Regions from separate parts of the Homo sapiens genome. Here regions 2 and 3 are each linked to region 1. The links are contacts of gene promoters, found by promoter capture Hi-C in human tissues and cell types (Jung and others, 2019). All regions are on one chromosome and are shown on one strand. Each heading gives the region's core, a stretch centred on a gene start or on the middle of the fragment in contact. The rest is flanking DNA. Distances are from core to core; before and after follow the strand shown. Region 1 holds the start of ASXL1 (ASXL transcriptional regulator 1). Region 2 overlaps DNMT3B (DNA methyltransferase 3 beta). Region 3 overlaps TTLL9 (tubulin tyrosine ligase like 9).

Region 1 (4,067 bases), core at 1,138-3,637:
AGTTCATTCAGCTTGTCAGAATTCAGCTCTGTGAGGTTGTAGGACTGAAGTCCCCATTTCCTTGCTGGCTCTTGGCAGGACTTCCTCTGAGCTTTTGGAGGCTGCCTGGATTCCCTGGCTTGTGGCCACTTTCAAAGCCAGTAACAGTGGGTTGAATTCCTCTCATACTTTGAATTTAATTCCTCTGCCTCATCTCTCCAAAACATCTCTTTTGCCTCCCTTTTGTGCTTTTAAGGGTTCATGTGATTACACTGGGCTCACCCATATAATACGGAATCATCTAATTTTAAGGGCTTTATTTCCATTGGCAAAATATCTTTTGCCAAAGAATGCTGGCTGGTAATCCCAGCACTTTGGGAGGCCGAGATGGGTGGATCACCTGAGGTCAGGAGTTCAAGACCAGCCTGGCCAACATGGAGAAACCCAGTCACTACTAAAGATACAAAAATTAGCTGGGCATGGTAGCGCATGCCTGTAATCTCAGCTACTTGGGAGGCTGAGGCAGGAGGATCGCATGAACCCAGGAGGCGGAGGTTGCAGTTAGCCAAGATCACGCCACTGCACTCCAGCCTGGGTAACACAGCGAGACTCTGTCTCAAAAAATAAATAAATAAATAAATAAAAAAGCAACATATTCACAGGTTCCAGGGACTAGGACTTGGACAGTTTTGGGCAAGCGGGGAAGACATTATTCTGTCTACCACAGTACCTGTATTAAACATGTAAATTTCAGTTATTCCCTGTAGGTCAGAGGGCAGTAAAGCTACTTCAGAAGACATCGGAAAGAAGCCAAATGACTTGCCAAAGAGTACTGTATCAGCCGTAGATTGAAAAAAAAGAAGTTAAAAATCCTTTGTAAAAAATCAAGGCAAACAGTTTTTTGAGGGACAGTAGTTCCTCCTTTCTCTCAGGGTAAAGCTAGAGAGATTTTTAAGAGGTGTCTTATTCTAACTTGCAGTCTTTTCCCTTTGTAGGATTTTGCTTACCGGACTCACAAGTTTTCTGTGACCAGTATTAGAAGCAGAAAACACTGAACCCCTTGGCGTTAGAGTTTGGGCTACACCATAATGGTCTCCTATCAATACTGGCTCTCGCTACGTGTTAACATTAGGGAGTGGAGAGTGTGTTTCCTCACCCAGGGAAACCGTTTAAATGTGGCCACTGATCCTGCCTTCATAGTTTTTAAGAGCTGGCATCAATCCAACTCCGGACGGACTCTAGAAATGTTTCTGGACAACGACTGAACCTATAGTTACAGAAAACCTATGTGCTGGGCGCTCTGAATTTCATTTCAGGTTCTAAAACTAAGGCTCAGAGAGGCTAAGTATATTGCCTATTGTTTCTCAGCTGGTAATAACAGCTACCATTTATTAAACATTTGCTCTATGCCAGGCGCCATATCATACGGACCTGATAATGTCAAGATCTCCCTTCACATCCTCTTCCAATCTGTCAAGAATTGTATGTTAATTTTAATTCCAATAATGCCATGAAATACAAGACAAATGCAGATCAGAAAACTGAGGCTCAGAGAGGTTGAGTGGACAGCCAGGGAGTGACTCAGCCAAGATTCCAGTCTAGGTCCGCTGGACTCCAGGGCCTGAATTCTCTCCAGGGTACTGCCTCTAAAAACGCCCTCAGGTGCATTCTGGTCAGTATGGCCCCAGAGTCCAAGTTCTTTACACGACCCGTCAACATATCACCAAGTTCCTAAGAACGCTCTAGGCTGCTGGTGCAGGCTCTGCAAATACACAGCGGCCTGAAAGCACAGGAAGAAATGAAGAACCGTCTAAGTCCATCAGCCGTGGAATAACCGTTTTACTGGTATGAGGGTCTTTTTGTCTCATTATTATGTGGCAGTGAGTCATTTAGAGGTGACCAAAAGGGAAAGTCCTGCCTCTCGTCCCCTACGAGAAGTGTAGGTAAGAACCGTTTAGGCGAGGAGAAGCACGAAGTGGGAACTGCGAGTCGAGCTCCCCATCCTCACTCCCCACCCGCACCCGCCAGGAGGTCCTGAAGCAAAAAGCACCGAAGGGGTTAAGGGTGGCCGGGGGAGCCCAGCCACCGCCCCTTCCCAGCATCGCCTCCCAGAATCCCGCAGGCCCCCAGCCAGTTCTCGCACCTCGCGAGACTCCACCCAGCCCCTTCCCCGAACAGCGACCCGTCCCCGTTCCTAGCTGAGGTCGGTGCTAGGCGGAGGACGCGAGAGGGAGAGCGGAAGGGGGCCGCCGGGCACGCCGGGAAGTGTGGTCCACGCGCTTCACGCGGCCATATTCTTCCGGAGCGGGGGAGGCCAGAGAGGCCGTTGGGACTACGACTCCCAGGCGCCCTTTCGGTTTGTTTTTGTTCAAAAAAAAAAAACCCCACACTCCCCCTCCTCACTCTTCACACACACTCACACACACCCACGGCAGACACGCACGCACCCGGGCGCCGAAGGGAAAGCCGCGTCTCGCCCTCCCGCCCCGCCGTCGGTCCTGTCTCAGTCCCTCAGCAGAGCGGGAAAGCGGAGGCCGGAGCCGTGACCTCTGACCCCGTGGTTATGCGGAGCCGCCGCATTCCTTAGCGATCGCGGGGCAGCCGCCGCTGCCGCCGTGGGCGACTGACGCAGCGCGGGCGCGTGGAGCCGCCGCCGCCCCTCCCCCACCGCCGCTCTCGCGCCAGCCGGTCCCCGCGTGCCCGCCCCTTCTCCCCGGCCGCACCCGAGACCTCGCGCGCCGCCGCTGCCACGCGCCCCCCCCACCGCCGCCGCCGCCCCAGCCCCGCGCCACCGCCCCAGCCCGCCCAGCCCGGAGGTCCCGCGTGGAGCTGCCGCCGCCGCCGGGGAGAAGGATGAAGGACAAACAGAAGAAGAAGAAGGAGCGCACGTGGGCCGAGGCCGCGCGCCTGGTGAGGCGGACAGCCGAGGGGGGCTCCGTGGGGCCCGGGGTGGGGGGGGCTCGCCGCGCACCCCCCCACTGGGGGGGGAGGGGCAAGGCCCTGCCCACCGCGGGAGGGGGCGGGGCCATCTTCCTTTAAGAACGGGACAGCCCCGCAAGGCGAGGGGTGGGGAGCGCTCCGCCGGGATGGGATGTGGCGCCTTTTTCCGCTCGCCCTCGCGCCCCCCCCGCCCCGCGCAGCTAAATTCCGGCGGAGGGGCGAGCTGGCAGGCCGGCTCCTCCCACTCTGGGCAGCGGGGTCCCGCGTCCCCTCCCCCACTATTTGGCAGCGTCTGGGGGTCTGGGGCAGCTTCGTTCATTCACCCGGGGGAGTTGGGTTTCCGGGAAGGGTCGGAAGCTCCTCCCTCGCTTCCTGGTGGGTAATGGGGTGGTGCCTTTGACTCCGGGGGTGGAAAAGCGACCCCACATTCAAGGACGCCAATGGCATGTTGAGCTTTCCCAATCTAAACCAGGTGCGTGGAGGGAAGCAAGTGCTTACTCCCAGCTTGAACCCTGAGCAGCGGTTCTCTAACTTTAGTGTCCTGTGGGCGACACCTGGGAGGCGGTTAGGAACGCTACTCCTAGGGCCCTTCGTAAGACCTGCTGAGCCTCAGGGTCTGGGATAGAGCCTGGGAATCTGCGCTTTCACCAGCTTCCCAGGTGATTCAAACGCAGTGGCTCACGGACCCCACTTTGAGAAACGCAGACTGGGCTGTTTGCCTTCAGAAGCTGGACTGGAAATTGGTATTTTGAGGAGAACTGAATCCACTTTGCAAAGAATGTATGTTGGACAAAGACAAAGTATCTCTGTTGGGAGACGTTGTTCACTGAGGATTTAGCAAGGGAGAGCGTAACTTGAGTGTTTGAAGCCGTCTCGTTCAACCGATGGGGGTTGTGAATTTTGTGTTCAGAGCGTCAGAGGACTTGCAGGTGAAATAGCTTCCTTTTGGATTACTCCCACAAAGCTCAGACACTTTGAGACATATTCGGGTAATTATCTGCTGATACCAGTAGTAACAGGTTATACTAAGATGTCAGTTCCTAAGATCTGTCACACAGCGAGGTTGTGGTGCGGATAGCATAAGTGTCTCTTGACACTGTAGTTTATATGTAATGGTTGTAATTCAGTTTTAATGATGAGTGAAGCTC
Region 2 (4,067 bases), core at 947-3,446, 420 kb after region 1:
TGGTATATCATGTCCCAGCCACGAAGCTCCCTTCATCCCTGGGATGGGTGATGCATTCATTGTTCATAACTTCTGTAATTCTTGTCTGTCTTGTCTCAGTTACGGCAATTCCAGGCACGTGCCCTGGATTGCCTGGGCATGAGATTTGGCACTGCCACTTCTCTGGGTGACTTAACTCATCTGAGTCTGTTGAAGGCAGGGGGATAATAAGACCTGCCCCAGGATGGGGTGGGGGTTAAAGGAGGTGGCAGACAGGCTGGGTGCAGTGGCTCACGCCTGTAATCCCAGGCCAAGGCGAGTAGATCACCTGAGGTCAGGAGTTTGAGACCAGCCTGGCCAACATGGTGAAACCACGTCTCTTCTAAAAATACAAAAATTAGCCAGGCATGGTGGTGCAAGTCTGTAATCCCAGCTACTCGGGAGGCTGAGGCAGGAGAATCGCTTGAACCCGGGAGGTGGAGGTTGCAGTGAGCCGAGATCGCGCCACTGCACTCCAGCCCAGGTGACAGAGACTTGATCTTAAAAAAAGAAAAAAAAAAAAAAATCCATGGTGGTAGACAGTGTTCAGCCTACAGTAAGTAGGGCCCTGGGAACTGTTAGCTACTTAATGTTACAGTGGCAGTGTGGGATGATGCAGTTCTAAATCCAGCATGTCTGCCACTCTGGATAGGTCATATTAGATAAAGCAGTTGGCTTGTGATGGGGGCCATGTTATCTGGAAATGCCAGCCTTGAATCATGAAGTCAGTGAGATACATAGAAAAGAGGTGGGGGAGATTTGTATCCACTGGTACACACCTGATGCTAATTTAATTTCTCTTGTCCTGATTCTAAGAACATGTAGTTAAATTTGTATGTTATTTACTTTCCCTATATATTGATCAAGGAGGTAGTATGTCAGTCTCTGTCTTGGTTTCTCCATCTGCAAAACAGGAATAACAGTACTTACCACATTTAAAGGTTAAATGAGTTAAGATAAGTAAAGCCAAAACAGTGCCTGACACATAGTAACACTGAAAAAAAGATGACCTTATTGGGGGGATTTTTATATATTTATATATGTGGGAAGAAAGGCCTAGGAGAGAAGCTTTTATTCCTGGATTTTGAGCTGTGGGTTTTGAGGTCTGAGAAAGGAAGCAGGAGGTGTAGGGAGTTGGGGAGGGCTTCCAGGCTGAGAGAACACAGCAGCACATGCCTCGAGGCTAGATTGTCTTGGCCTGCGTGTAGACTGAAGCGGGGTGGGGGAGGAACTGAGCTGGGCATCTTTAGTCATGGGTGCAGGTTCTGAAGTTGGTGTGCGCTGTCTACACAGCTGTGGCTATAAGGCAATGAGGGTAGTTAATTTCACTACAAACGTAGGGTCGTGATAAAAACAGAAGGAATTTTAAATGAAATCACATTGAATTATGCAACGAGAAGAAAGCATATATAAGTGCTCAGCTTGCTCCTGGGGGACACCCAGGTAGCTAGTGCCATTTATTGTGGGTTTTCTTCCTGGACTGTCTCTCCAGTACCCACAGGTCTTGTTCTAGGGGCTTGAGGCTTTTCCTGAATGTTGAGATATGGGTTTTGGAAGGTGTGCTGCCCACACGTTGGGTAGGCTGGTGGCCAGTTGGCACTGCTGAGGCCCTGGGGGAAGGCCCAGGGTGGTTAATCATTGTCAGCCTGGGTCTGTCTAGGAGGTGAGACTCCTGTCTGGCTTCTTGTTGACCCAGTTAGGGCCTGTCTGAGGAATGGGGTTCAATGTTGCCTGCGAAACCCAGCACACATTAGAACCCCAGGCCCTGGATGAAGGCGAAGGAGGTCACATCCTTCACTCCAGGCCTCTGGTCTGCTACCAGCTCCTGGCCACAAACAAACCCTGTGTGTCCTCCCCCCAGAGCACTTTGGGGAGGTGGACCCTCCTGGAGACACCAGGTACACCAGGTAGCCCCACCTCCCACTCTATGCCAGGCCCACTAGGTTACTTAGTTCACTGATTTGGCCTGAGGTGAAACGCTTGAAATTAATGATTATTCTGAACCGACACCGCAGCAGCTTTCCTGGGATTCTGACTGCTTTGTCTCATAGGAACTGGCCATAGGTCAGCCAGCCTGTTCTTCCGGGTCAGGGCTTGGGAGAAAAAGGGCTGAGAAGCAGCTGATTGGTCTGATTCAGGCACGTCCCTTGTCCTTGGTAGGGGAAATTCCTTAACAGGTGCTGATACACACTCTGGATCATGTGAAGCACAGAAAGCCTATGTGTTATGTATCAGCGCACATGTTTATAATCTGAACAATGCTGCTTTAACATGCATATTAATCACCTAGGCATGACTTGTGTGTGTTAAAATGTCTTGTGAAAATCCCGCTTCAGGCCGGGTGTGGTGGCTCACGCCTGTAATCCCAGCACTTTGGTAGGCTGAGGTGGGCAGATCACGAGGACAAGACATCGAGACCATCCTGGCCAACATGGTGAAACCTGTCTCTACTAAAAATACAAAAATCAGCTGGGCGTGGTGGCGCATGCCTGTAATCCCAGCTACTCAGGAGGCTGAGGCAGGAGAATCGCTTGAACCTGGGAGGCAGAGGTTGCGGTGAGCTGAGATCGTGCCATTGCATTCCAGCCTGGCGGAGGTCGCACCACTGCACTGCAGCCTGGCGACAGAGGGAGACTCTGTCTCAAAAAAAAAAAAAATGAAAACCCTGCTTCAGGACATCTAGCTTAGTGGTGGAGATTTCTCCAGCCAGCTCCCACTTCCAACAGTTCTTCCAAGCAGCTCTCAGTTCATGGTACTGTAGCCTGCGTGGCTCCTGGGCCACACAGGGAGTAGCAGCAGAGGTCCAGTTGCCCCATGCCATGGGCAGGTGCAGGGTCTGGAATTGGGAGCTCTCACCACAGATTGCACCTCTGCCTGGGGGCGCCACTGGGCTCATCAGACTGAGCTCACGGTGCCCCCTGGTGGGCGATGCCAGTGGCGCCAGTGCAGCTTGGAGCCCGCAATACAAGGTGTGGCTTCTAGAAGGTACCCTGGTTTGAGATGCTGAGGTGGGAGGATCCCTTGAGGCCAGGAGTTTGAGGCCAGCCTGGGCAACATAGCCAGACTCTGTTTCTACAAAAAATTAGCCACACCTGGTGGCACACACCTGTGGGCCCAGCTGGAGGATCACTGAAGCCCTGGGAGTTGAAGCCTACAGGGAGCCGTGATCACGCCACTGCACTCCAGCCTGGGTGACCAAGTGAGACCCTGTCTCTAAGATAGATGGATGGATGGATGGATGGATGGATGGATGGATGGACAGATAGAAGATAAACTGCGAGGCTAGCACGGGTTGTCTGGCAGGGGCTGGTATGTCTCCACGATGGAGCCCGAGGCAGGGAGGCCCGGTGCATATGGCAGCAGCTTATTGGGGAAGCTTTTCCCAGGCACGGTTCCAGGACACAAGGGTGTGGTGTGAGTGACCTGGAGCTGTTTGTGGTTCAGGGATGGGGGCCTGGAGGTCTCATTATGCCTAGGCTTTTATAATATTTTTGCCAACCAAAGGTGGAACAAAAAGCAAAGGCAAGTGACTTGGAAAACTCGGTTTCAGCGGGGATTTATGCCCTGAAGTTTTTTACTCGTTCTCTATCTAATCCTGGCCCTACCTCTTAGATGGGCTATATGACCTTGGAGAATAACCTAGTCTGGATGTCAGTTTTCTTTTTCTAGAAGGTGAGCTCCCCAGTCTCCCTAGGGGGAGATACAGGTTGTTGCATCCAACAAAATCTGTGTGCCCATAATGTTGCAGGCAATGGGCCAGCCCAGAGGTTATAGCCTGCCAACCCATCCGTATGGCCCTGGCCCTGTGTGTTAGCTGATTTACCTGACCAGGAGGGGCAGCAGTGGGGAGGCCAAGTCCCAGAGGTGAGGGTGAGGCTACAATGGATCTGGGGAGTCCCCCTCCTGGTAACTGCCCCCAGGCTTTCTGCCTGTGCCTCCATCCTTCCCTCCTTGGGAACTTGGGACTCTGAGCCCCAGCTGGTGAGGGAGGAGGGGAGTGAGCGACAGGCCAGCAGACCAATGGGCCCTGGAGGATGGGGTGAGGCGGG
Region 3 (4,067 bases), core at 619-3,118, 410 kb before region 1:
ACATTCAGCATCTGGAGCAGTTCCTGGCTTGAGGTAAGCCCCCAGTCCTCATGTTCACTCCATAAGGTGGGCAGTAGTATCCTGGTTTACAGATGAGAAGACCGATGCTGAAAAGGGTAACTGACCTGCTTGAGGGCCATGGCAGTTTAGGAATGGAGCCAGGATATAAACCACAGGCTGTGTGTGGTTGTCTGACTCCCGCTGTCCCCTCTTCCCAGCAGGGAGTTGGGGCACAGGCCCCTCCACTCCTCCCAAGCATAGGTCATCCCAGCCAACACCCCACTTCCTTTCCAGGCTGCGTCAACGATCGGAAGAAACAACTGAGGCAGCTCTTCTGCTCCCTTCAAGTTCAGAAGAAAGCTTCCAGTTGATCCCCAGCTGCCAGGAGGAAATCAGCCTTAGCAGGTGCCACCCAGGCCTCCCCCCCACTCCCAGATCCCAGCACAGCACCTCACAGCATTCGCCTCCCCACCTCCAGCCTGGCACCAGCTTTGCTGGCTTAGCAGCTGCAGCTTACTACCTGAATTGGGCCCCTTGGATACCTCCAGCCCATCCCCAGGCATCTTTGCACCAGGAGACAGCCAATCACTGGGACTGGGGGAGGTTTAACCTTGACAAACTGACTTGGCAGTTAGGCCCAAAGAGAACAAATACAGCAAGTTCTGCTACCCCCAGGAGATCATATCTAATAAATGAGCACAGGCCCTACTTGGAGTCACTGGGCACCAGGCCTGGTTCCGGGGATACTGTTGGCTGCAGCCAAGTCCTCCTGGCTTTGACACTTGGATACCTCCCAAGTCAGTGCTGAAAAGGTCCTTCAGGAGCAAGAGTTTGGAGGCTAAGGAACTCGTCTTTAAGCTGTGCTTACACAGCAAGCAGTTATTAGATTGTGTGTTTATTGGGGGCCTGGGGAAGTACTGAGCCCTAAACACATCCTCTTCTCCTTGCATGTCAGGGGAGCCCATGGGGCTCCCTGACCATCATCTGAAAACCAGTGGGACAGGGCATCCCCATTTCTCAGATGGACAAGACAGACCAGGGAGGCAGAGCTTAGTGAGGGTCTCTGCAAAGGTGCATTTATCTAAGTCAGATGGGTGACTTAAGTGCTTCTCTAGGCCTTGTGTTTGAGATTGGGAGCTGAGCCAGAAACCGGAAAACCCTGGGCTCATGGGCAGGACAGCTTCGGGAGTTGAGTGTGAGTAAAAATCTGCCTTTTCACATCTTACATTGCTAAGCTTCCTCTTGGTTTAAGAGGGGTTGCAACAAGACTCGGGGCTGTTGGGGTAACTGTTCCAGGGGGGACTTACTCCCTCTACCACTCCGCCTGCTTCAGAGTAGTTTCTCTGGCTGCAAATGGTTGAATCTGCCTGCCTAGGTCAAGCCCGAAGGGAAGACTTTTGGAAGGAAAATACTGGCAAATCCAAGAAGTGAACCAGCCGACTTTAGGAAAGCCAGAAGCCAGGCTACTCTAGACCTTCTGCCTTCAGAGCATGAGGACTTCTCCCACTCATCCCTGTACCTGAGGCACACCAACCCAGACAGGTCCAGGCATGGACTCCAGGTTCCCTATTTCCAGAAGGAATGCGATTAGCTTTTTTTGGCCCAGCACCCACCCTGCCAGGGAGGAAGGGGCAATTTTCCAGTGATGAAATTGTGAATCAGGCAGTCACACTGGACAACATCTAGCAAGGTGAATTCTGCAACTCCCTACTTTATTTACATTTTAAAATAAGCAATATATTCATACGGTTTAAAATCCAAAGTTTACAAAAGGGTATAGGGTGACATCTCCTTCCCTCCCACCTGTGCGCCCCAACCCTGCAGGTGCTGTTCTGAGGGAATCACACTGTGCTTGCACAAAAATTATTAGCTTATAAGACACCAGCCTTCCCCTTGCTTTCCTCACTTGATGTATCTTGGAGCTTGTTCCTTATTCTTGATTATAGTTGTATGGTATTGCACTATCTGGAGCTAACACCTGTGACCCACACTCATGTTTTAAAAGTTTCTGCATTAGTCAAAAATATTTAAAAGGAGATTCAACTTCACAACCCATATGTCTAGCTTCTCTTGAAAACACGTAAGAACTGGCCATGACAGCCTGTGTTTCTATGTAACTATGAGCCAGAGCCAAGGAGCGGGGGGACCAGGAGAGGTGTGCCCCTGCCATGCTGCCATTTGTTATCACCCGCCTGTCAAATCACAGGTTTATTTCAAGGCAAGAACCATGTTCATAGGTTGTATTCTAAATGGAGTGGCGTGCCCTTACTGAAGGACTAGATGAGGCAAATAAAGACTAGTTGCTGCTATTCATTCATTCAGCTAACATTTATTGAGCCCTTAATGAACACATAAGAGTTTTGACTTCACGGCAGTTCATACTGGGACCTCAGACCACTGAAGGCAGACAGTAACGAGCAGTGCTGGCCGGGCCCCACTTTCAGAGGGGGCGGAAGGGCATCTTGACACGTGTCATATGGTAAGAGGCGCATCCACTCACCCAGGCCTGGTGCAGGACTCTGCAAGGCCCTCCTGAGTAAAGAGTGGCCACGAAGGGCTGCTAGGCAGCACCTACTCTTGGAATCAAGCAGGGAAAAAGTGCAAAATTGGAGCTGGCGGGAGGTGTGTGTGCCTGCCCCACAGATGGCTGTGGTGAGCCACAAAGCACCAAGATTCTGTTCTTCATTCAGCAACCACCCATGAGCCTCCTGCTTTATTCCAATCGCATGGCACCAGCCTGAAAACCTCTCTCCCTTCTGAGAGGAATGCTGGAATGACACTCCACTCTGCCCCTCCCTCCCTCCTTCCTTGCTCAGGGTCCATGTGAACAGCAGGCCATTGTTGGGAAGTGCCTGTTGCAGTCATTCTTACACCCCCACAGCCACTGCCCCACACACCCACTGGTGGCTACCAAGGCCCGTCAATAGATCTTGTGTCCACCGAGCCCTGGTGTCCAGGTCCAGCAGCCAGACAGGCTGAAGGTTCCCTCCTGCCATCACAGAGTAGCCAAGCACTACAAAGAGGTTTTCATGGCCAGATTCCTGACGGCTGGCCCCTTACAGGGCAGATCCTGTCCTTACAGGTGTCAAGGTTGGAGGGTCCTGGGTCCTCCATGACCCTGGGGGGTTGCTGGTCCCCCATCTTGGTTCTTGAGTCTCATCCTTTCAAGATGACCTTGAGAGCTTTAAGCTCATCCTGGTTGAGGGGGTTCAAGTTAAAACCCTTCAGCTCCGGTTTGCCTAGGAGAGAAGATGATCCATCAGCACGTCGGGCCTCCTGCTGGCTCTGGAGCCAGGCCCAGGAAAGGGGCTGACGCTGCACTAATGCTGCCAAACTCAGCCTGGAGGTCTGGCAGGGATGGGCCTCCAATTCTGCAATGCACCAGATGAGGCATCACCACTGCTCCTGTGTCACCAAGAGCCTGCAAACGCGTAACTCTGCTGCCCAAAGAACCTCAGGTTTTTCCAAGACCTGTGACCAATCTAGAGTGCTTGCATTTATCAAGAATTTCAGCTCTGACCTCACTCACTCACTGAAGCCTTCTGAGTTTCCTCAGTCAGAGCTATCTGATCCCCATGCCATGCCCCGATGTATAACGTGAGATCACCCCAAGCGGTTCCTGGGACCTGGAAAAGAAACTATGACAGGACTAGGACTGTAGAAGTCCCCCTGTCCATTCTGTCCCTGGGCAGCTACAACCAACCACTGTGCACACCTCCAGGGCCACTCACAGGCTGCCCCGGACACTGCCCATCTCTGAGGGTCGGACTTCCCATCCCTGCCCTTCAAAGTCCATGCTGATGATTCCCTCCCCTTCTTATCTCCAGTCCCTGCTAAGCCAATACCTTGGGCCTCAAAAAGGCGGTTGACCTTCACTTTAAGTTGCTTCCGCAGTTTTTCTATTTCTTTATCCAGATGATCTTGATCTGAAAAAATGAGGGGGGCAAGCAGAGGATAAGATTGTACCAGACAGACTTGATCCCAGTAGTGGAGAGGCCAGCCTCTCCCCAGCAAGGGCGTGTAGCTTTCAGGAAGGAAAAGGGGACATCAGAGGCCAACTGAGGAAG

What was found. Contacts are between HindIII fragments. The study calls those that stand out against the background at their distance.
Region 2: a fragment that was not itself captured here is called in contact with the fragment with the promoter of ASXL1 in region 1 in 2 of the 25 tissues and cell types used here (IMR-90 fibroblasts and aorta).
Region 3: a fragment that was not itself captured here is called in contact with the fragment with the promoter of ASXL1 in region 1 in 2 of the 25 tissues and cell types used here (dorsolateral prefrontal cortex and spleen).

What each region holds. Positions count from the first base shown.
Region 1 is chr20:32,355,944-32,360,010 of GRCh38, forward strand. It overlaps ASXL1 (ASXL transcriptional regulator 1), which reads left to right and starts at 2,388. Exons shown (of 13, transcript NM_015338.6): 1 at 2,388-2,889. The coding sequence starts at 2,833. RefSeq lists silencers at 2,638-2,687, 2,928-3,087. The HindIII fragment of the contact is 13,760 bases long and covers 1-4,067 here.
Region 2 is chr20:32,775,704-32,779,770 of GRCh38, forward strand. The region is part of intron 1 of DNMT3B (DNA methyltransferase 3 beta); the gene reads left to right. Among named protein-coding and RNA genes, the nearest start is that of DNMT3B, 15 kb to the left of the region's middle. RefSeq lists enhancers at 1-124, 1,772-2,320, 2,356-2,857, 2,723-2,852, 3,359-3,859 and 1 more. The HindIII fragment of the contact is 3,440 bases long and covers 477-3,916 here.
Region 3 is chr20:31,942,651-31,946,717 of GRCh38, forward strand. It overlaps TTLL9 (tubulin tyrosine ligase like 9), which reads left to right. Exons shown (of 15, transcript NM_001008409.5): 15 at 295-2,350. The coding sequence ends at 371. PDRG1 (p53 and DNA damage regulated 1) reads right to left here. Exons shown (of 5, transcript NM_030815.3): 4 at 3,846-3,926; 5 at 1,687-3,239. The coding sequence ends at 3,157. Among named protein-coding and RNA genes, the nearest start is that of PDRG1, 7.4 kb to the right of the region's middle. The HindIII fragment of the contact is 5,609 bases long and covers 1-4,067 here.